Regions from separate parts of the Homo sapiens genome. Here regions 2, 3, 4, 5, 6 and 7 are each linked to region 1. The links are contacts of gene promoters, found by promoter capture Hi-C in blood cells and fetal thymus (Javierre and others, 2016). All regions are on one chromosome and are shown on one strand. Each heading gives the region's core, a stretch centred on a gene start or on the middle of the fragment in contact. The rest is flanking DNA. Distances are from core to core; before and after follow the strand shown.

The links. The method cuts DNA at HindIII sites, captures the fragments that hold promoters and counts their contacts. A CHiCAGO score of 5 or more calls a contact.
Region 2: a contact is called between a fragment that was not itself captured here and the fragment with the promoter of TNS3 in region 1, in 5 of 17 cell types (total B cells, M2 macrophages, M0 macrophages and 2 more). The highest score is 18.5, in total B cells.
Region 3: a fragment that was not itself captured here is called in contact with the fragment with the promoter of TNS3 in region 1 in 1 of 17 cell types (total B cells); the score reaches 5.0 in total B cells.
Region 4: a contact is called between a fragment that was not itself captured here and the fragment with the promoter of TNS3 in region 1, in 9 of 17 cell types (total B cells, M0 macrophages, naive B cells and 6 more). The highest score is 24.6, in total B cells.
Region 5: a fragment that was not itself captured here is called in contact with the fragment with the promoter of TNS3 in region 1 in 9 of 17 cell types (total B cells, naive B cells, M0 macrophages and 6 more); the score reaches 23.1 in total B cells.
Region 6: a contact is called between a fragment that was not itself captured here and the fragment with the promoter of TNS3 in region 1, in 1 of 17 cell types (total B cells). The highest score is 5.9, in total B cells.
Region 7: a fragment that was not itself captured here is called in contact with the fragment with the promoter of TNS3 in region 1 in 3 of 17 cell types (total B cells, naive B cells and M0 macrophages); the score reaches 14.9 in total B cells.

What each region holds. Positions count from the first base shown.
Region 1 is chr7:47,580,521-47,583,481 of GRCh38, reverse strand. TNS3 (tensin 3) reads left to right here and starts at 1,371. Exons shown (of 31, transcript NM_022748.12): 1 at 1,371-1,431. RefSeq lists enhancers at 960-1,497, 1,498-2,035. The HindIII fragment of the contact is 9,706 bases long and covers 1-2,961 here.
Region 2 is chr7:47,823,310-47,826,270 of GRCh38, reverse strand. The region is part of intron 45 of PKD1L1 (polycystin 1 like 1, transient receptor potential channel interacting); the gene reads left to right. Among named protein-coding and RNA genes, the nearest start is that of PKD1L1-AS1, 29 kb to the right of the region's middle. The HindIII fragment of the contact is 4,787 bases long and covers 1-2,961 here.
Region 3 is chr7:47,354,009-47,356,969 of GRCh38, reverse strand. All of the region lies in intron 17 of TNS3 (tensin 3), which reads left to right. It overlaps LOC124901629 (a long non-coding RNA gene), which reads left to right. Exons shown (of 2, transcript XR_007060319.1): 1 at 1-2,961. Among named protein-coding and RNA genes, the nearest start is that of SNORD151, 110 kb to the left of the region's middle. The HindIII fragment of the contact is 8,931 bases long and covers 1-2,961 here.
Region 4 is chr7:47,796,271-47,799,231 of GRCh38, reverse strand. The region is part of intron 54 of PKD1L1 (polycystin 1 like 1, transient receptor potential channel interacting); the gene reads left to right. The region is part of intron 1 of PKD1L1-AS1 (PKD1L1 antisense RNA 1); the gene reads right to left. Among named protein-coding and RNA genes, the nearest start is that of PKD1L1-AS1, 2.5 kb to the right of the region's middle. The HindIII fragment of the contact is 632 bases long and covers 1,246-1,877 here.
Region 5 is chr7:47,775,165-47,778,125 of GRCh38, reverse strand. It overlaps PKD1L1 (polycystin 1 like 1, transient receptor potential channel interacting), which reads left to right. Exons shown (of 57, transcript NM_138295.5): 57 at 2,960-2,961. Among named protein-coding and RNA genes, the nearest start is that of LINC00525, 15 kb to the right of the region's middle. The HindIII fragment of the contact is 2,591 bases long and covers 139-2,729 here.
Region 6 is chr7:47,383,920-47,386,880 of GRCh38, reverse strand. All of the region lies in intron 16 of TNS3 (tensin 3), which reads left to right. Among named protein-coding and RNA genes, the nearest start is that of SNORD151, 79 kb to the left of the region's middle. The HindIII fragment of the contact is 5,773 bases long and covers 1-2,961 here.
Region 7 is chr7:47,750,710-47,753,670 of GRCh38, reverse strand. No RefSeq gene overlaps it. Among named protein-coding and RNA genes, the nearest start is that of LINC00525, 9.3 kb to the left of the region's middle. The HindIII fragment of the contact is 421 bases long and covers 1,209-1,629 here.

The DNA.
Region 1 (2,961 bases), core at 122-2,621:
TCATCTCTAGGGGCTGGGGCATGGTGCTCATGAAGCCTTTGCCTGGGAATAAATACCCAGATCAGTCTGGGGATGAGAAATGACACTACCTTCCAGAGCACAGCAGGGGTTGTTCAAGTCTTCCAGAAAAGCAGCTCTTGTTTCTCCTCATGTGGTGGGAGTGGAGTCAGAGCGTGGCTCAGGCCCCACATTCTCAGCTGTTTGGATCTGGGGACTCGAAGTTTCTGGTGGTTACTTCTGAAAGTCTTTTCCAGGATAATTATTCTTGCTCGGTTTCTCTGCCATCTCTGACAGGCTGTTTTCCCTGCTTCCCCCGCTGCCCTGAAGGGGCCAGAGGAACAGGGCAGGACCCCAGGGCTGCGGATGGGTTAGGCAGCTCTGTTCCCGAATCCAAAGCAGTTCTTGGTGACTGTCCTCCAAGACTTGCCCTGGACCCTGCTCCGGGTGGGATTCTGAGACCGCCTGCTCCACGTGGCAGATGAAATCTAGGTCTCTTCTGTGAGAGGCTGGCGGGGAGGATGTTTTCCTGGAAAGGACCACAGGACAAACCGCTGATGAAATTTCTCTTGTGACCTCCCTGGAGGAAGAGCACTTCTGATTTCTGCAAACTTTTTCCATTCCCCCGATCTCACAAATGGGGAAACTGAGGCTAAGCGACTGAGTTCAGGGCCATCTGAATCTCAGGGATGGACAGTCAGGATGGACAACCTATAGGCCTTTCCTCCTCTGAGAATCTCTCTGCTCGGGATCGTTTTTCTGGTTTCCCCTGGCTTGCCTAAATTCTGCTCATTTGTCCCGGCGCATTTTAAGAAGTCATGTGACTTCTAAAGACTTCCCTGACCTCCTCCCTTCATTAGCTGGGTATTTCAGGGGCTTCTACGGCACCCTAGGCTTTCCGGAGCGGCTGTGCTCCTTTATGTATGCGCGACTCCCACTAGGCTATGAGCTACAGGAGGGAGGGTAGGTCTTGCTCCCGGAGAGCACCTTAATCACAGGCGCTGAATGAAAGAATGAACTGGTTGTGCAGGAACCAGGATCCGAACCCGCCTCCCCAGGTACTCTAACACCGGCCCGGCGGAACCTGCAAGCCTCCAGACCACTTGGAGCCTGGGCTGCTCAATGGGTCTGATAATTCCAGGTCCTCTCTGCGGCCAGCGAAGGGAGGTCCCAGGGCGCACCTCGGCAGGGCGGGGGACCCCGGTGAAGGGCGCCTGGAGGCGCGCTGCATTGTTAGGGTGATGAGGCCAGGTGACCCGCCAGGCTCGGGGCGCGGGCGCGGGGGCCGGCCGTGGCGATTGCCCGCGCCGCCTCGAGGGGGCCCTGCCGCGGGCGCCGGCAGCCAGCCAGGAGGACGGGCCCGCCCGCGCGCTACTCGGAGCCCAGCCTCGTTGCGGCCATCGCCCTGCCGGACCGCGCCTCAGGCTCCCCCAGGTACTGGGGCCGGGGAAGGAGGAAACGCGGCCACGCGCCGCGGTCCTCTTTGTTTCGGGCCCGGCGCGGGCTTTCGCGCTCCGGGCGCAGGAACGAGGCTTGGGGAGCACAGAGATCTGGAGCTGGGGCGCGGGGACTGAGTTCGGGGAGCGCGGAGACAGAGTTCGGGGAGCGCGGGGTACGGGAGCTCAGGGCGCGGGGATGGGGTCACGGGAGAACCCAGGTTAGGGAGCGCGGGGACCCGGTTGGGGGCGCACGGGCAAGGGGTTTGGTGCGCGCGGGTACGGGGTTTGCGGCGCGTGGGGGGCGGGGGCTCGGCAGGAGTCCCAGGACAGGGGCTGGGGCGCGGGCCAGCTTCGCCGGAGTCCGGGGACGGGGGCGCTGACTGGCTGGGTTTGGGGACTGGCTGGGGCGCAGGACCACTCGAGTGGGACCCGTGGCGCCCGGGCGCCCTGGACTGAGGGCAGAGACCGGAGCAGCTATGTCGCAGTCGCTGTCGGGACCGAGCGGACTTTGCTCCCTAGGACTCCGTCTCGAGACTCCAGGTGGAGAGCGCAGCTAGGGGCTTCAATGGGCAGGCTCAAGACCCTTCTCCTACTTTTTCTAGGCAAGCTCTCCAGTGCGTCTCTTTCCCTTTCCCTTTGGTGGGTGGGAGGCAGGGGGTCTTTACGCGCTTCCTTTTTTTCCCTGAAGGACGGGACCTCGGGGTGGGGGGATATTCTGGGGTGGGGGGTGCTGTCCCAGGCTGGGGGCCAGCTGTGTGGCATGTGCCTCCTGGCACGCGGGAGCTGTCGCTGACAAGCAGGAGGAGGGAGGGTCCCGGACGGCCCAGGGGTCTCTGTGTCGGTGCTGTGCAGCGGCCTGACATGTGAGTCCCGGGTCCTTTGCTTGGAGTGATTTGAGTGTCTGTGGCGGGAAGAGATTCAGGCGTTCCTCAGGCATTCTCCAGACAGTGTCAGCAGATGACCCGAACTCCAGCGTGGTTGAAAAACTCAAAGCGCCATCAGGGTGTGGGGCCAGCAGAGAGCACTACTGAGGGTGGTCACAACCCCCTGGGAAGCCCCCAGGCTTCCTTGGGGCGCATTCACACACTTTGATCTTCCGGGTTGGCTTTCCCCCCATTTTTTTCACTATTTGAATGCATGATCATGGAGGACTCTGAAAATATACTGAAAAGTATGAATGCAGAACTCATTGTATTAATATTGCATGGCCCTTCTGAACTAACCAACCCTTTGACATTTTAGATTTTCTTGAGGCTTTGGTCTGTGCATATTAATTTTTTAAATTGCTTTCATGCTTTCCCTTTTGAATGAGGTTTACTTGTTCTGGTGATTCTGGTTCTTCTCTCTTTGGGGCCTGTGAGGTTATATTTGCAAATCAATCAACAAGTATTAAGAAAGGCTTTTCTGTGCTGAGGCCTTGAGGGCCAGGGAGGGGGTGGGGAGTCGCTGCAGCTGGAGGGTGGAGGGGCAAGGCCATTACACAGAGATGGAGGTGCACTGGGTCCTGGTGGGGGTGTGGTAGCAC
Region 2 (2,961 bases), core at 334-2,833, 240 kb before region 1:
CCACACACACCTCCAAAGGCACTCAGGTGGGGACCAACCAGAGAGTGCACCCACCCTATAGCTTAGCAGCTACGGAACATGGTGGCGGGAAGGATGGGGTACCTGATGTATCTGAGAATAGAACTCCAAGCTCCTGTAGGTGTTGTTCACTGGGAGTGTGGTGGGCGCATCTTGGAGGAGTTTGCAGAGTCAAGTTCACAGGTGAGTGCAAGGTCTGGAGGTCTGGAGCTGCTGGGCCAGCTCAGCCCTCAGAACTAACCAAACCCAGCTCTGCCAGGACGTAGCCCTCTGGGGTGGGGTGGCTGGGGGCGCTGCTGGGGGAAGCATCCAAACCAAGCAGAACAGGCCCAGAGAAAGCATTTAGGAAACAGGCAAAACTAGTAAAGTATTAGGTTATAAAATTAAAAGACAAAAACCAATATCATATTTATATACAAGCAAAAGTCAGAGATTTAATACAAGACCATATTCAACAAAGCAAATAATAAATACAACAAAATACACTTAGGCATAATCTTAAGTATAAGTTTCTCTAAGATTTCAGTGAGGAAAACTTCCCTATGACTTAAAATCCAGACACAAAAAGGGAAAATAAAAGTAAATTGGATTACATAAAACTTGAAGAAGAGAAAGAAATAACTCCTACGTAAAAAGAAACTATTTGTAAAATAAAATGGCAGTGACAAACTAGGAAAAAATACTTGTAACAAAGTTTTAATATTCTTTTTTTTTTTTTTTTGAGACAGAGTTTCGCTCTTGTTGCCCAGGCTGGAATGCAGTGGCTCAATCTCAACTCACTGCAACCCCCGCCTCTCAGGTTTAAGCGATTCTCCTGCCTCAGCCTCCCAAGTAGCTGAGATTGCAGGCATGTGCCACCATGCCCGGCTAATTTTTTGTATTTTTAGTAGAGACAGGGTTTCACCATGTAGGTCAGGCTGGTCTTGAACTCCTGACCTCAAGTGATCCACCCACCTCAACCTCCCAAAGTGCTGGGATTATAGGCATGAGCCACCACACCTGGCCTAAAGGACCAGCAACTCTTTAAAACAAAAAAAAAGTGGACTGGAAAAGTGAACAGAGAGTTCACAGAATAAAAGAAGTTCAAATGGCCCTTTCACTTACAGTAAGAGAATTGCAAATTAAACTGTGAAAATCCAAAAATGTGACCACATACTCTGTTAGTGAGGCTATGTCAAATAGAGCATTTCACACAGTGCTGGTGTAAATGCAAAATGGTACAGCCACTATGGGGGAAATTTGAAGTCTCTACACAATGATAGATTCATTTACGATTTATCCAGCATCCACACTTTTTACAATCACTCTTACAGACACAGTAAGTAAAACATGAACATACCCACACACAAACCAATTTATGTGGGACCTTTTGTAATGAGAATATCCTAGAAAGAACCCACACGTCTTGCTGGAGGGACAGGAACACAGTGTAGTAGTGTCCAGCTATGTAGAAGCATGAAGACTACCCCTCCAGGCTCCTAGGGAGAGGCCTGCAGGATTCGCTGCAGGAGGGAAGCCAGGTAGAGGAAAGCGGGTATGCTGTTCTGCCCACTGCTTAATGAAAGGGGACAAGAATATGCGTGCCTGTAGATCCGCTCACCCTAAATAAAACAAGGGAAAGGCAATCCAGGCACCTTTAGGAAATAATAATAGTTACTTATGGGGAGAGAAGGAATAAGATTTTTTTAAATCTGTGTTAAGGTTAAAAATTTGACCATATAAACCTAGTCTCTAAGGACGGAAAAGAACTAGGGGAAAAAACTCTAAAGCTGTTTTCACCAATCATATTGTTAGTGGAGCGTTAGTATCTTTATTTTCATTGTTGATTTATTGTGGGGTAAAGGAAATGAAGAATTCTGTTATTTTCTAATTCTGTCATTCCTGGTATCCTTTAAAAGTGGAATTCTTGATATGAGAGAAAGAAGGTACAGATTTGAGTTCAAGGAAGTCAAAACTCTGCAGTCCTGAATTTGAATTGAAAGTATAGGTATGGAATCATGTGGGTTTTTAAAAATATTTTCCTAGATTTTTCCAGCAAGAAAAGGCCTAGAAACAGCCCAGAAGCAACACACACTTTTAGCACCTAGATTTGGTCCACCAAAAAGAATTAGAAGTAACTGGGATTCCTGATTTGAAGTTGGTGATGGAAAATGTACAAGATGAACCTGGAATGTTTCTTAGGCAAGGGAGCAATTAATAACTGCTAGAGTCATTGTCAGAGGACCAAGAAGCCAGTTTGAAGAGGCTCACATTGGTCAAACATGGGATAATTTGACATCAAGATTAGAAACTACTGAATTGAAGTTCATGAAATCTATCTAAAGCCATGAGCTGGTAACAACACCCACAATGTAATTGATCAATGTTGGTGGACACTCAGAAACCAACTTTATAAAAGCCAGTGAAAGCCTGCCTTTCCTATACAGACCATACCCCTGGGAAACCACATAACAGGAGGGGGGATATTTCTCTTTAGAGAGGAATTCCAGCTAATGAATGGGGACCAGGTAATAGAATTAGAGCCTGACCATTTTTGCAGTTTTAATGAAGTAATGAATCTGGGCATTGCTCATTAACAGTGGTCAATATAAAAGAGAGAAGGAGAGAGAGAGAAACATCAGACATTATGTGTTTCCTCGTGGGAAAACACCATCATCTATGAGGCAACCTACCCAAAACAGTCCAATCTTAATCTGATGAAGTTATTTTGCCAACTTGTAGTTTACAGTAAGAGTATGTTGATATCACCCTGGAAAGCAAGACAGAAATCTATAGTACAAATAACCACTTGCTCAACAAATAAATCGCAAAGAAGCAAAAATAAATAAAGATGATACCTATGGACTGGAAGAGACACGAGGAGGAAAGTAATTAATGTAATTCACCATATTAATAGACTAAATAAGAAAAACCACATGCTCGTCTCAATAGAGGCAGAAAAAG
Region 3 (2,961 bases), core at 131-2,630, 230 kb after region 1:
ACGACAGGCATGTGCCACCATGCCTGGATCATTTTTTTTTTTTTTTGTATTTTTCTGTAGAGACTGGGTTTCATCATGTTGCCCAGGCTGGTCTGGAACTCCTGGGCTCAAAAGATCCACCCTCCTCAGTCTCTCAAAGTGGTGGGATTACAGGCGTGAGCCACTGTGCCCGGCCCCTGTTTTTTCTATGTTTTAATTAACTTATTTATCATCGTATTTATTTAAGGTGTTTAACATGATATTTTGTTTGTTATATCTATACATAGGGAGAGGATCACTACAGTCAAACCAATGGACATATCCACCACTTTACCTAGTTACTTTTGTGTAAGAGCACCTAAGGTCTACTGTCTTAGTCAATATTGCATCCTGAAGATTTGCTCAGGGAGCGGATTCCGTCTCTTTTAGAACAGAGGTTGGACACTTTGTCTTGCATGTTGGAGTCACCTGGGGAGCTTTAAAAATGCAGACGCTAAAAATGTGGGTACCTGCTTCTACCTCCAGAGGGTGGCAGATTGAGTTGGCCCTGGTGGGGCCTGGATGTCAGACTTGCTTTAAAAATGCTCCCCAAATAATGCAGTGCTAATTCAGGGTTGAGACCTGCTGTGATTCTTGAGCTTGGTTGTGTGTTGGAAACACTAGGGAGTTTTTAAAAATACTGACACCTAGGTCTCACCGCTGGAGGTTCTGACTTCACAGGTGAGGCCCGAGCTTTAGGATTTTAGTGATAAAAGGTGGACAATGGCCTTTGAGAACCACTGTTGTATATTTGCAGTTCTCAACTTAGGTGCGTGTCCCAGCCTCCAGGAGAGCTGGCCCTTGGCTCATTGAGGCTGGAACGTGCCGCAGGGTGGTTCTAAGATTTGTGACCCTGCTGTGGAATTTAGAGGACAGCCAACAGTCACGTATTGGTTATCAGAGGCAGAGGCAGGCGACCCCATGGGCTGCCTTCCACCTGGGTGCTGGCTTTATTTCACCAGGGCAGAGTGGGCTATGTGACCCCACAGTGGAGAGAATGCAGTGACATGAAGTGTGTGAGTGGGCAGCATGGTGGGTGTCCGCTCCTGAACACTTGACCCATCTTCCTTCCCCTCCCTCATCCCACTTCCCAGCAGAGCCTCAGGGCCTGGGATCTGCCAGGCCGTGCGCTGGCAAAGATCAGTCTCCAAGAGCAGTCTGAATCACAGAATCACAGCTCAGGGTCAACATAAGTACTGACTTACCTATCAGGATGTGTTATTTTACACTCTCAATTAGTTTACATAATTGGGAGTTCAGTGTATTTGGACAAGGTGGAAAGTTGCCGAAGAGCTTTGTGGGTGTTTTAAACAAAATTTAAAAAACATTTTCTGGCTAAGCGATCTGAGAAGCCCTCTCCTGCACTTCAGACTGCTCAGGGGTGAATTGATGGCAACAGTGCTGACCCCCAGGCTGGGCTGAGTTCAGTCCCACATGTGTTTAGTACAGCACCCAGTGTCTTGGCCTGAATCCCTGATTCTCCAGGGCTCTGACGGCGATGCATCCCCTTCTCACGAGGCCCCTGGGTGCCCCCAGTCAAGGACTGGCTTTCCTGCTCTTTCCTCAGAGCACGTGAGGATTCCCTGTCAGGACCGTCCCCCACCCTGTTGTGGTGGCTTTGGATAAGGTACGTCATAGGATGCACCTGGGGCTGAGGCCCCACCATCCCCAGCTCCTCCTGTGGGGCCGGAATGACTGAGCGTCCTCCTGCCTCGCAGGCTCGGTGTCCTTTTGCACCCTGTGGTGAATCCCAGATCCCGCTGGGCGTGGCGGAGTCTCAGGTGACCCTGCGCAACTTGCTGGCTGGGCAGCCCTCAGCACGTTTCCTTATCTGTCCTTGACGCCGGCTCCACCCGTGAATAACAGTGAGACTGCTAAATGAGGAAACATGCTGGTCTTTGGGAGTGGCAGTGTAGGGGACTTTGGGGCATGTGTCCCATTTTATACTCAAGGTCACGTGGTTCCCGAGGCTCTGGGTGGGTAGCACCCAGTGTCTGGAGGGAAGGAGGCTTGGGCGAAGACAGCTAAATGCCTGGTGTGGGGACTGCCCAAAGAGATGGGCAGCGTCCAGTCATGTGACCTTTGGAGACCATGTTACCATGTCATGTTTTGGTGGACAATGAGCGTGTCACCGCGACAAGAGGGGCACAAGACTGTGTAAAGAAAAAGCCACTGCCTGTCCCTCCCTCCACAGAGACCCCAGCTGCATGGAGTGGGTGAAGCTGCACATCACCTGCAGATCACCGGGGTCTGTGTTCACTGGGGGTTTCAAGGGGCCTGAGATTTCTGCACTGAGTACTCATGACCTTTGTAAGGAGAGGATGCAGGATTTTTTTTTTTTTTTCCTGGCTGGGAACTGGCAGGGAAGTAAGGGCAGCTCTTCCCCAGCACCTGGGCCTCAGGCTGGGAGCAGGGTGGGCACAGGTGTGAGAGATCAGGGTGTGTGTGCCATGGGTGCAGCCAGATGCAGGTGCCCCCCTGCCCCACCCCAGGGCTTTGGGAGCTGCCCTTTGCCCGTGAACATCCCTGTGTGGGAGCTTGGGTTTTGTTCCCTTTCTCCTTGGTTTTTCTGAGAAGGGGTACGTTGGGGAGCTGGGGGTGGGAGGGCGGATCGCCCAGAGCCCTGCAGGTGCTCTCCAGTGCTGGCAAATTCCCTCTTGTCCCCTTATCAGCTCCTTCCAGAGGTGACAGCCATCTGTGTGGTGGCAGCTCTCTCCTGCTCCCATGAGGTCTCCTTTTTCTTCTCTTTTCCTGGATTTGACTTCTTAACTGAACAGAAAAATATATAGGCATGGACAGTTTTGTAGTAGTGTTTGGAGAATAGGCCTTAACAATATAATTATTCAATTCATGATTTCATTGTTCAAACTGCCCAATCTCATTGCATTACGGCCAGTTCTTTGTCGTACCTTGGAATTTGTGTGTGTGTGTGTGTGTGTGTGT
Region 4 (2,961 bases), core at 312-2,811, 220 kb before region 1:
TCACCAAACTAGTTACCTGTCCACCTATCCACCCACCCATCCATCCATCAATCCACTCATTTGTTCATTCATGCACTCACTCATTCAACAAAAAACTAAAGAATGCCCATTATATTCAGGCAATGGCGAAACAAAGATAATAACTGCTTCCTGCCTCAGGGAGCTCACAGTCCATAGGGGAAGACTGGCATATACAAATAATTGTGGCAATTTTTATATTTTGAATACAGTTTTTAAATTGGATATGTGATTTGTAAATCTGTAGCTTCTCCTTTTATTCTCTTAACAGCATCTCTACAGAGCAGAAGTTGTAAATTTTGATAAAGGCCAGTTTTTCAATGTTTTCTTTTATGGATTTTGCTGTTGGTGTCCTGGCTCAAATGAATTGCCAAACCCAAGGTCACATATTTTCTCCTATTATTTTCTTCTAGAATTTTTTTTGTTTCTTTGTTTTTGGTTTTTTTGTTTTTTTTTTTTGAGACAGAGTCTCACTCTGTCGCCCAGGCTGGAGTGCAGTGGCGTGATCTCAGATCACTGCAACCTCTGTCTCCCAGGTTCAAGTGATTCTCCTGCCTCAGTCTCCTGAGTAGCTGGGATTACAGGCGTGTGCCACCACACCCAGCTAATTTTGTATTTTTAGTAGAGACAGGGTTTCGTCATGTTGGTAAGGCTGGTCTCGAACTCCTGACCTCGTGATCCTCCCGCCTCAGCCTCCCAAAGTGCTGGGATTACAGACGTGAGCCACTGCACGTGGCCTTTCTTCTAGAATTTTTATAGTTCTATGTTTTACATTTAGGTTAATCATCTGTTTTAAGCTAATTTTAATGTAAGATGTGAGGTATGGAACAGAGTTCCTGTTTTTTATAAATGAATATCCAATTTTTCCAGCACAATTTTTTTGAAGAATATTTACTCCATTGAATTGGCTTTACAACTTTGTCAAAAAGCAATTGACTGTATCTGTGTGGATCTATATCTGGGTTCTCTATTCTACTCCATTGATCTTTCCTTTAGCCAATCCCATGAGGTCTTTTTCACTCTGTGGCAAATCTTAAAGTAGCATGGATGAGTCCTCCAGCTTTGTTCTGTTTTGACTGTAGGTGTTCTAGCTCTTTTGCCTTTCAATATGTTTTAGAATCATCTTGTTACTATCTTTTTAAAAAATCATGTTGGTGTTTTGATTGAACTTGCTGTGGAATTATAAATCAAATTTGGGGGGAATTGGCATCCTAATAATATTAAGCTTTTTTGATCCTAGAATTCTGTATTTCTCTCCATTTATTTAGATACTCTTTGATTTTTTTCATCACTGTTTTATAGTTCTCAGCATACAGATCCTACACAATGATAGGCAATTTTAAAGCCTAACTAGAAGTGTCCTCAAAGAGCAAGAAACTTAGATCAGAGACTCATTTATTCTTCCTAGGGAGACCAGGAAATCTTCATACAACAGGAGAGTGAGCCTTGATGAGCAGTTCCACTCATGGTGATGACTGCTGAGAGCAGCATTTTAGACAGGGGGCATGCAGGGAGGGCCATGCTGGAGTTCTGGGTCAAGTGGGCATTATGTTGAAAAGGATGGTTGGAGTCAGGAATGGAGGGCCTTGAATGTCGTGCTTAGGCACCTGGATGCTATCTTCTGAGACAGGCAGGCAATATTGCATTGAGGTCTCTGGGTGGAAGAGTCAGGTCTTGCTGTCTGCCATGGGTGTGTTGCTGGTAAATCCAGGAGGCCTCAGACCTACACACCAATGGCCTACCCTTTCAGGCTCCTGAGCATCTTTGCAGAGTTCTGAAATTTTGTGAGGGGTTCGAGGGATTTGGGGACCAATCAAGAACAAACATATGACCACAAGAGATGATAACACACACAAGCTTTATCTGGGTAATGTTTTGAAGTGTTTCCATGTGGGGGAACTCCCTCATACTTCATGCTATGAAACTGTCCACAGGTTTACAGCGTAGGGGCCAAGAACCATCCAAAAAGGAAGAAGAGCAAGGGCGATCTCAGGGGAGAGGGGCAGCAGAGAGAGAGCTTACCCCTTAGACGATGCTGCTTAGCAGCATGGAGGGGAGGCTCTGGGTCAGAAAGCTCCTGAAGCCAGCAGCAGCTTGGGGCCTTATAACATTATCAGTGGGTAACAGCTGTCCCCTGAGGTTTTGCAGGGTGTGTAAAGCTGACAGGCTCTAAATGGCTAAAATGTTTGTTTGGGTGTTTTTTTTTTTTTTTTTGAGACGGAGTCTTGCTCTGTCGCCCAGGCTGGAGTGCAGTGGCGCAATCTCTGCTCACTGCAAGCTCCGCCTCCCGGATTCACGCCATTCTTCTGCCTCAGCCTCCCGAGTAGCTGGGACTACAGGTGCCCACCACCACACCCAGCTAATTTTTTTTTTTTTTTTTTTTGTAATTTAGGAGAGACAGGGTTTCACCATGTTAGCCAGGATGGTTTCAATCTCCTGACCTCATGATCCGCCTGCCTTGGCCTCCCAAAGTGCTGGGATTACAGGCATGAGCCACTGCGCCCAGCCCTGTTTGGGTTATTTTTTAAACAATTGGATGTGTAAAAATTCGAGTTTGTTACCAGTAGGCTTTTGAGCTAACAGCTTACAGCCTGCAGTGAAGAAATAAACCACCTGGAGGCTTATAGAGCACATGTTGAGGGCACAACAACTTGCTGAGCCCAAGACCCTTTCTGGTCTCCCAGGCACAGGCACAGGCCTCTCTCCTGAGGCTCACCCACAGCTCAGAATGGTTCACCAGGGGACACTGAAACTGAGACACAGACTTTACATATGGGCATGCACATCGCGTTGATAATCTCAGTCTCCAAAGTTAGATACTGAAAACAACCTTTATAATACAATGAATTTCCATTGCTGAGATCATCTTACTGCCATTTAGTTCAATTCAGGAGAGGTATTTTCCTGATTTTGCTTTTTTTCACCAAGAAATCACTATTTTAC
Region 5 (2,961 bases), core at 185-2,684, 190 kb before region 1:
GGCCTTGTTTGTACTTCTTGTGTCTCCTCTTAATGATAAACAATAGTCCAGGAGTACCATGATTAGGAAAAATTTGTGCTATGCTAAATGTTGATGGCTACCAGCATCCATCTCTGTCTGTCCCTCACTGCCCAAGCTTTGTCCAGGCCCCAGCTACTGCCCAGGCACTGACGCCACCTCCCCTGCAGCTCCTCACAGCCCCTATAGAGAGCAATGTGTCCTGCTTCTGAACTTGCTCCTGAAGGCATCAGGCATGTGCCTTTTCATGCTCTTTTTTCTTTCCCAAGTGTGAGTGATACCTGGAGCAAGATTAGAAGCCTTGTGCTGAAGATGACAGAGCTGCCTTTCTAGGATGAGAACTGTGCCAACTTCCCCCTGCTTATGTGAAAAATAAACCTGGATCCTGTTTTGCTCTGAGGAATCTGGGGGCTCTTTGTTATAGCAGCAGCATGGCTTTTACCTAACTAATTTCTCACACTTCACACTTGCCTTAGAAACTATACTTACACTAATGCAGCCCCCAATTATATTATTATTTATAACCTTTGACAATAGTTTTGACTGTAAATGATGTAAAACATGACCCTAATTGACTGAAACTGCAAGGAAATGTGTTATCTACAAAACCAGAAGTTGAGAGGTAGGGCAGATGCCATCTCTGCATTCTGCTGTGTGCTGGCTTTGCCTCAGGATGGAGGACACCCTGCTTGGTTGCAGGATATCTGCTACAGGTCCAGGGATCACATCCAAAGATGAAATGTCCATGGAAGGAGGAGACCATCTCCTTCGGTCTTATCATTAGATATGAGGAAACTTTTTCAGGAAGTCCCCAAGAATATTTTCCCTCAAACTCATTCCTAAATTGATCATGGTGAAATGGAATTATCATGATTAATTTAGACTAATCATTTGGGATAGTCAGAATTTAAGTGTCAGCCGGGTGTGGTGGCTCGCGCCTGTAATCCCAGCACTTTGGGAGTCTGAAGTGGACGGATCACTTGAGGCTGGGATTTCCAGGCCGGCCTGGCCAACATGGCAAAACCCCATCTCTACTAAAAATACAAAAATTAGTTGAATGTGGTGGCGCATGCTTGTAATCCCAGCTACTCAGGAAGCTGAGGCGGGAGAATTGATTGAACCTGGGAGGCGGATGTTGCAGTGACCCAAGATTGCACCACTACACTCCAGCCTGTGTGACAGAGCAAGACTCCTTCTCAAAAAAAATAAATAAATAAATAAAAATAAAAAAGAATTTAAGTGTCAACCAGTAGGATCTTTGGAGGTCTCAACACCTCCCTACCCATCCTTAAATTTTATTGCGGAGCAATGTCTTTGCTCCTGTACCTTTCTCTCCATAATGGTGCTATTTATTGCGTGGTCATAAATACAGTTCATTATTATTCCTGTTAGACTTCCTATGTTTATCACAGCATTCCAGGTTGAATTGGATTCTGGTAACACTTATGTTCAACCTACCTCCCAGCTTCAAAACTGAATCCTATAATATTTACCAAATACCTACTACATTCTCAGCACTGGGGTATGAAGAAAAAAATTCCTCAGCCATCTCACAATCCAGTAAAAGCAAATGAGCAAACAGGTGTGGAGATGCGCTAGGCTTGGGGCCATGCTGAGTCAGCTGCTGGAGCAAATCAGGGTGCATCAGAGCTGGAGCTGAGAGACCTGGAGGAGAATTCCTCAAGGGAGAAGCAGCCAGTGACAATGGGGGACCCTGGGTTTTGTTTTTTTGTTACTGTTCTTGTAATGTCTTTATCTCATATTAGTATCAGGATAACGCTGTCCTCCTAGAATAAATTTGGAAATATTCTCTCTGCTTCAGTTTTCCGGATGGGTTTGACTAGAATTGGAACTATTTCTTTCTTAAATGTTTGATAGAATTCACCAGAGATGCCATCTAGAATTGAAGTTTTTTATTAGAAACTTTTTAACTATGAATTCAATTTTTAAAGAAGTATAGGACTATACAGCTTATCTATTTCTTTTTGAGATAACTTTGGTAATGTGTATCATTAAGGAATTTTTCTATTTCATCTCAGCTGTGAAATGTATAGGAATAAGTTGTTCATAATATTTCCATTTTATCCTTTATCTGTAAAAAGTGTAGTGTTGTCACCTCTCTCATTCCTGATATTGGCAATTTGTGTCTTTGTTGTTGTTGTTATTCAAAGACAACATATTTGTGTCTTTGATATGTTGTTATCATCCTGGCTAGAGGCTTGTCAATTTAATTGATCTTCTCAAGGAACTAGCTTTTGGTTTCATTCGTTTTCTCTATTTTTTTTTTTTTTCTGTTATCTACAGCACTGGTTTCTGCTTTGATCTTTAGTATTTATTTATTATTTACTTTTTTCTGTTTACTTTGAGTTTAAGTTGTTTTTCTTTTTATAGTCTTTCACATAAGAGCTAAGGTCATTTAAGACCTTTCTTCTTTTAATATAGGCATTTAGTGCTACAGATTTCTCTCGGAGTATTGCGTTAGCATTCATCCCTGAATGAAAATGATATGTTTTCATTTTTATTGAGATAAAAATACTTTCTAATTTCCCTTTTGATTTATTCTTTGATTCATGGGTGATTTGGAAGTATATTATTTAGTTTGTATGTATTTTGAGATTTTCCTGATGTCCTTATGTAGCTGATTTCTAATTTTATTCTGCTGTGGTCAGAGAACATCCTGTGTCTTGAATCGTTTGAATGTTATTGAAGCTTGTTTTAATGGCCCAAAATATGATCTAACTTGGCAGATGTTTCATTTGAACTTTAAAATATTTGTATTCTGCTGTTGTTGAGCAAAGTGTTCTGTAAATGTCACCTTGGTCAAGTTAGCTGATGGTGGTGTTCAGGTCTGATCAGCACTTGCTGCCTTTCTGCCTATTTGTTCTGTCAATCACTGAGAGAGGGGTGTTGTTTCAGTATGTTTTTCATTTTTTCTTTTTAGCC
Region 6 (2,961 bases), core at 236-2,735, 200 kb after region 1:
TATTTTATGTAAAACATCCAGCTATTTCTTGAAAAACAGGGTTGATATAATGGCAGCTTGTGCTGTTATGTAAGAAAAGCGAGCTTTAATGGATCTTCAGACTTGCTCAGTTTATCTTGCCGATAGGAGCAATTCTGACCTACTTTGGGGATGAAAGCTGGTTTTCACAGCACTCCTTTCCCCCTGTGGACACTGTGCTGGATGGGGACGCATGCCAGGCTGAGCAAAGCTGAGACCGCCTCGGCTCGTTGCCTCAGCACAGCCATATACCTAGAGCCTGCCTGGCTGTCTGTCGGGGAGACCTGGCATGGAGGTCCATGGATCGGGGTAAGAGACAGGGTGACCACTTTGCTATGTGAGCCAGGAGTGTTATTAGAGCATGTCACAGAGAGGGAGCCAAGGTCAAGGCCTGTCGAGGGTGGACACCCAGTGACAGTTGCTCTGGAGCTGGGAGCCCAGATTTAAATCCCTAGGGCCCGAGAGACTGATGCGAAGTGCAGGGAAAGCCATTGACCCCAGGAGCTGGGAAAACAGGTTTCTGTGGACAGGAGGAGGGCGTCCCCAGCAAATGTCCTGTGTGCGCTCCGCCTGCACCTGCCTGTTGTGGATGTGGGGGGACCCCCTCCAGTTGATAGGGCCTAGGTGGAGGGTACAACTGCTCCCAGGAAGTTTTCTTCCACATAGCAAGAGCCAGAGATGTGTTTAGTGTTTCTTTATAAGTGCATAGTGATGATTTCTTAACAAGGAAAATACACCCTTTGACATAGTAGTCTTTCAGACTTCACTATGGAAAGTTGAATTAATTTAGGATTCATGGTGTTGACAGTCTATGGGAAATTATACTATGAAAATTCAATAGTATTTATTTTTGTCAGTGTGAATGTGAGCTAATTTATGACCTGGGATATATTCTCACTGAAATTAGGCCAAACGGTTAGAGCAATAGCAAGATTTGGTGTTGATTGATTGTGGGAATTCTGCCAAGATCTCAACAGCCGTCCTTTGGTGGCAGCAGTAGCCATACATTGCCCCTGAACTCGTAGCAGTGAGTCTGGGATGCTGCTGGGCCCCTGACTAGGATGAGGCAGAAGGAAAAGCGGCGGGGGAGCCACCGAGTGATGGGCACTATGGGTGCTTTCCTGAGGGTGGGAAGAGGCTGCGAGGAAACCATCTTTCTCGTAGTATTGGGAGTTCATTCTTTATTCCTGTACATGTAATATATTGCTCTCTTGTTAATCATAAATCGGAGGATTCCAATAGGTCACCTGGGGAGTGAAGGCAGAGTGTCACCTTCTGGGAAGCTCATGAAAGAAAACCAGAGGCCACGTGTGCTTGTCAGGCAGGCTCTGTAGGATCCAGGATGCAGTCTCCATCTCCTCCCTGCCTCTCTGAGCATCGGCAGTGCTGGATGCTGCAGATACAGAGCTGAATTGGATGGCACAGCTCCGTGCAGAGGCCAGGACAGGGCTGGAATGGCTAATGGTTGTTGTTGTCAGAGCTCACCCTTGCTGAGTGCTGCTCACGAGCTGCACAACCTTCCGAGCATGCAGCTTGCATTAACATATCTAATCTTTACCACACTGAGGGGTCAGAGGGCTAGTTGGTGAAGCCAAGAGTGGGGGCTTGGTCGCCGGCTGTGAATCTCCTTCTGCTGATGTGCTGAGCTCAGTTCAGGCAGGGACTGGATTGACAGAGGCAGGAGACTGAGAGCACCATGAGTGTGTCCAAAGCAGGGTGCCTGGTGCAGGAGCCAGGATGCAGAGAAGGGTAGAGAGCAGACTGGGAGTGAGTTCACTGGCTGTGGCGTCACTTGACCTGTACAAGGCAGGCGAGGTTGTCTGTTGGGAGTGGACAACAGTCTGGGGAGTGGAGGTGTTGAGAGCTGGGACAGCTTGGAGGAGCTTCCCCTGGCAACAGGTGGTTGTTGGGTGAGCAGTGTGGTGTGCCCAGTGATGTGTGGACGCCACACTGTTACGGCCTCTGTGATTTCAGAGGCATGCACATCAGCAGGGGCATGGACGTGGGCCACAGGCGAGGGAGACAGCAGGCCTTGTGGGTCTAGATGGGCTAGGAGAGGAAGCACCATGGATCTGTGTTGCCCTCGATGTCTTAAATTTGGTGCTGGAGTTAAACATACATTGGCTGTGACTCCACTGTGCTGAGGGAAGGGCTGGATACATGCAGAGAAGAGCAGGAGCCAGGGAGCTGTAGCGGCTGCTAGAGAAAGGAGAGTCCTGGCCACCACTCCTGAAGAGCTCAAGGCTTTCAAAGTTTGGTGGAAGTTGAGGGTATGTCATGAGAAATTCTAAAGTCAAACCAAAGAAAGTTATCTAAAGTCCAAAGAGTCAAGGCCAGGGCCTCAATAAAATGTTGATGGTTTCCCAGGAGAAGCCACAGAAATGCCGGTGATGAGAGTGTTTGAACCTGGACCAAGGGAGGCATGGACGTTTGGGGGATGGGCTGGGAAGTGAGGGGCAATGGCAGCCCGCAGGGCTGGAGAACGCTGTAGCCAGGGGTACCAGTTTCCAGAGAGAAATGAGTTTTGGGTGAAAGTGTTCTGAAGTGGAGTGCAGGAGGCACAGGCTGCCCCTTCCCGGCCTCTAGGCACACAGCTGCCCCTCCAGAGACCCCCTGGGACGGGCCTGTCTGCCCATGTGGGTGGGGAGGGGCCTGACATTGGAGCAGGGATCACACAGGCTCAGTGTGGTGGACAGGTAGGGATGTCAGCTCAGGAGGATGAGTCCTTGGAAAGAAAGTTGGGAGAGGAGCAAACGGTGGAGACAGTGGGGGGAGAATGGGTGGTCACGGGCTGGAGGGACCTGCATTTGTTGAAAGTTGGTGGTGTCATGTTTTCAAATCAGAACTTTCTACCAGAAGCTATCTGAATTTAGATGTCACTTTCATGTGTCTCTCCTTATGAGGAGGAACTTCACAGGAGGCCCTGCGTGTCACTTTCTGACC
Region 7 (2,961 bases), core at 170-2,669, 170 kb before region 1:
CTGTCGGTGGGAATGTACATTCTTACGACCGCTATGGAAAACAGTATGAAGGTTGCTCCTAAAACTAAAAATAGAACTACCATATGATCCAGCAATCCCACTGCTAGGTATGTATTCAAAAGAAAGGAAATTAGAATATCAAAGGTGTATCTGCACTCCCATGTTTACTGTCACACTGTTCACAACAGCCAAGATAGAGAATCAACCTAAATGTCCATCCACAGATGAATGGATAAAGAAAATGTGGTACGTATACAGAAGGGAATATTATTCAGTCATTATAAAGAATTAAATTCTGTCATTTGTGGCAGCACAGATGGAACTGGAGGTCATTATGTTAAATGAAATAAATCAGGCACAAAAAGACAAATATCACACGTTCTCACTCATATGTGGGAGCTAAAAAGATGGATCTCGACCAGGTGTGGTGGCTCACGCCTGTAATCCCAGCACTTTGGGAGGCCAAAGTGGGCAGATCACTTGAGGTCAGGAGTTCGAGACCAGCCTGGCCAACATGGTGAAACCCCGTCACTACTAAAAATAATAAAATTAGCCACGCATGGTGACGGGCACCTGTAATCCCAGCTACTCAGGAGGCTGAGACAGGAGAATTGCTTGAACATGAGAGGCAGAGGTTGCAGTGAGACAAACTCACGCCACTGCACTCCAGCCTGGGGGACATGCAAGACTCTGTCTCAAAAAAAAAAAAAAAAGTGAATCTCATGGGGATAGAGAGTGGAATGGGGGTTACCAGAGGCTAGAAAGGGTAGTGGGAGGGGGAAGATGAAGAGAGGTCAATTCATGAGTACAAAAATATAATAGAAGAAGGAATAAGTTCTAGTGTTTGGTCACACAGTAGGGTGACTAGTTAGCAATAATTTATAATATGTATCAAAATAGCTAGAGTGTGGATCTGAAATGCTTCCAACACAAAGAAAATATAAATGTTTGAGGTGAAGAATATCCTAATTAGCATGATTTGATTATTACACATTGTATATACATGTGGCAAAATACTACCTGTAGCTCAGAAATATGTACAATTATTATCTATCAGTGAAGATATGTTTAAATATATATGACAGGGAGAAGGAAGAGAAAGAGATTGAGAGAGAGAGCACAAATGTTGAAAAACATTAACATTTGGTGAATCAGGTGACATTTATATAGGTATTCAATGTATTAGCCTCTCAATGTTTTTATAAGCTTTGAAACAAAAAAAAATGAGAAAAAGTAAATGTTAAATCAAATCCTTTCTAGGAAAAGAAATGAAGTAGAGTCCTGTAGTTCCGATCAATTTGTTTATTTTGGTTCTCACCATTGAGTGTGGATCTGAAGTGGCTTCTCTCACACAGAGGTGGTGGAGGAGTGGCCACCTGGCACCTCTGTGGTTTGCTGAGACACAGCAGGGGTGGAGGATTCCTTCTGCTTCCCCATGGGAAAGGGGTGTGCATGGCTTCCATTTCCTACTATGTCAGGAGTTGGTTTCTTCCGGTGGGTTCTTGGTCTTGCTGACTTCAAGAATAAAGCTGCACACCTTCATGGTGAGTGTTACAGCTCTTAAAGGTGGCGTGGACCCCTAGAGTGAGCAGCAGCAAGATTTACTGTGAAGAGTGAAAGAACAAAGCTTCCACAGCATGGAAGGGGACCCCGGTGGGCTGCTGCTGCTGGCTGGGGTGGCCAGCTTTTATTCCCTTATTTGTCCCCGCCCACATCCTGCTGATTGGTCCATTTTACAGAGTGCTGATTGGTGTGCTTACAATCCTTTAGCTACACACAGAACACTGATTGGTACGTTTTTACAGAGTGCTGATTGGTGCATTTACAATCCTTTAGCTAGACACAGAGCACTGACTGGTGCGTTTTTACAGAGTGCTGATTGATGCATTTACAATCCTCTAGCTAGACACAGAGCACTGATTGGTGCATTTACAATCCTCTAGCTGGACAGAAAAGTTCTCCAAGTCCCCACTCGACCCAGGAAGTCCAGCTGGCTTCATCTCCCACCACCAGGACCCCAGGTTATCCCCACTGTTCCCAGCCTGTCATATAAGTTCTTGGAGGAAAGCGCACCTAATTTTCTTGCCAGTTCTGCTTGTACATTTCCCCAGTAAATCTGGGTTGGTATCTACAGCAAGAGAGTCTGGCATTGCCTGGGCCCATCAGCCACACCACCTCACAAGCAGAGCCTCCTCCAGGGAGGACACTTCTCGTTTGAGGGAGAGGGCAGCCTTCTGTGACCTAGAGATCCCTAGAGGTTCTTGGTAGGCACACAAGAGTTTACCCTGTCTTCATCACCGTCCTCCCCAGGACCACACGTTCTCTCTTTCAGTTATCACTCTGTGTTTTCCTAATCATCTTTGGCTTGCTCTAAGCCCTTCTTTGCCTTGCTCTAGCTCCTTGTGGTAGCCCACCACAAGAACCACATCTTTGAAGGCCACCTCCTGTTGTGTCTCTAATTTATCTTTCAATCTGGAAAACCTGTGCCTCCTCCGAGATGAGGTTTCTGCAATGAAGCTGCGCAATATATTTATACAACATCGACTGCTTTATGTACCATGCTGCCCCAAGGCACAGTAATCAGTTCCAAGAAAATGAGCTCAAATACTTTGTTCCAAAATGGAAAGTGAAATTCAACAGAACAGCCAGCCCTGCTTGATGGGATTCTTTCACATCACGATTACTACTACTTTATCTGAAAAGCTTAAAATACTACTTGCCATAATTATCTCTTAACATTTAGGTGGTGAACATACTTCACCAGGAAACTCTGAAATGACACTCACCCCTCAACAAAATCTTGTGCAAATCTAAGACGGACATTACTTTTGATTCAGTAATTATACCTGCTTAAACGTATCCTAAAGAGGCTGGGTGTGGTGGCTCACGCCTGTAATCCCAGCACTTTGGGAGGCCGAGGCAGGCAGATCACGATGTCAAGAGATAGAGACCATCCTGGCC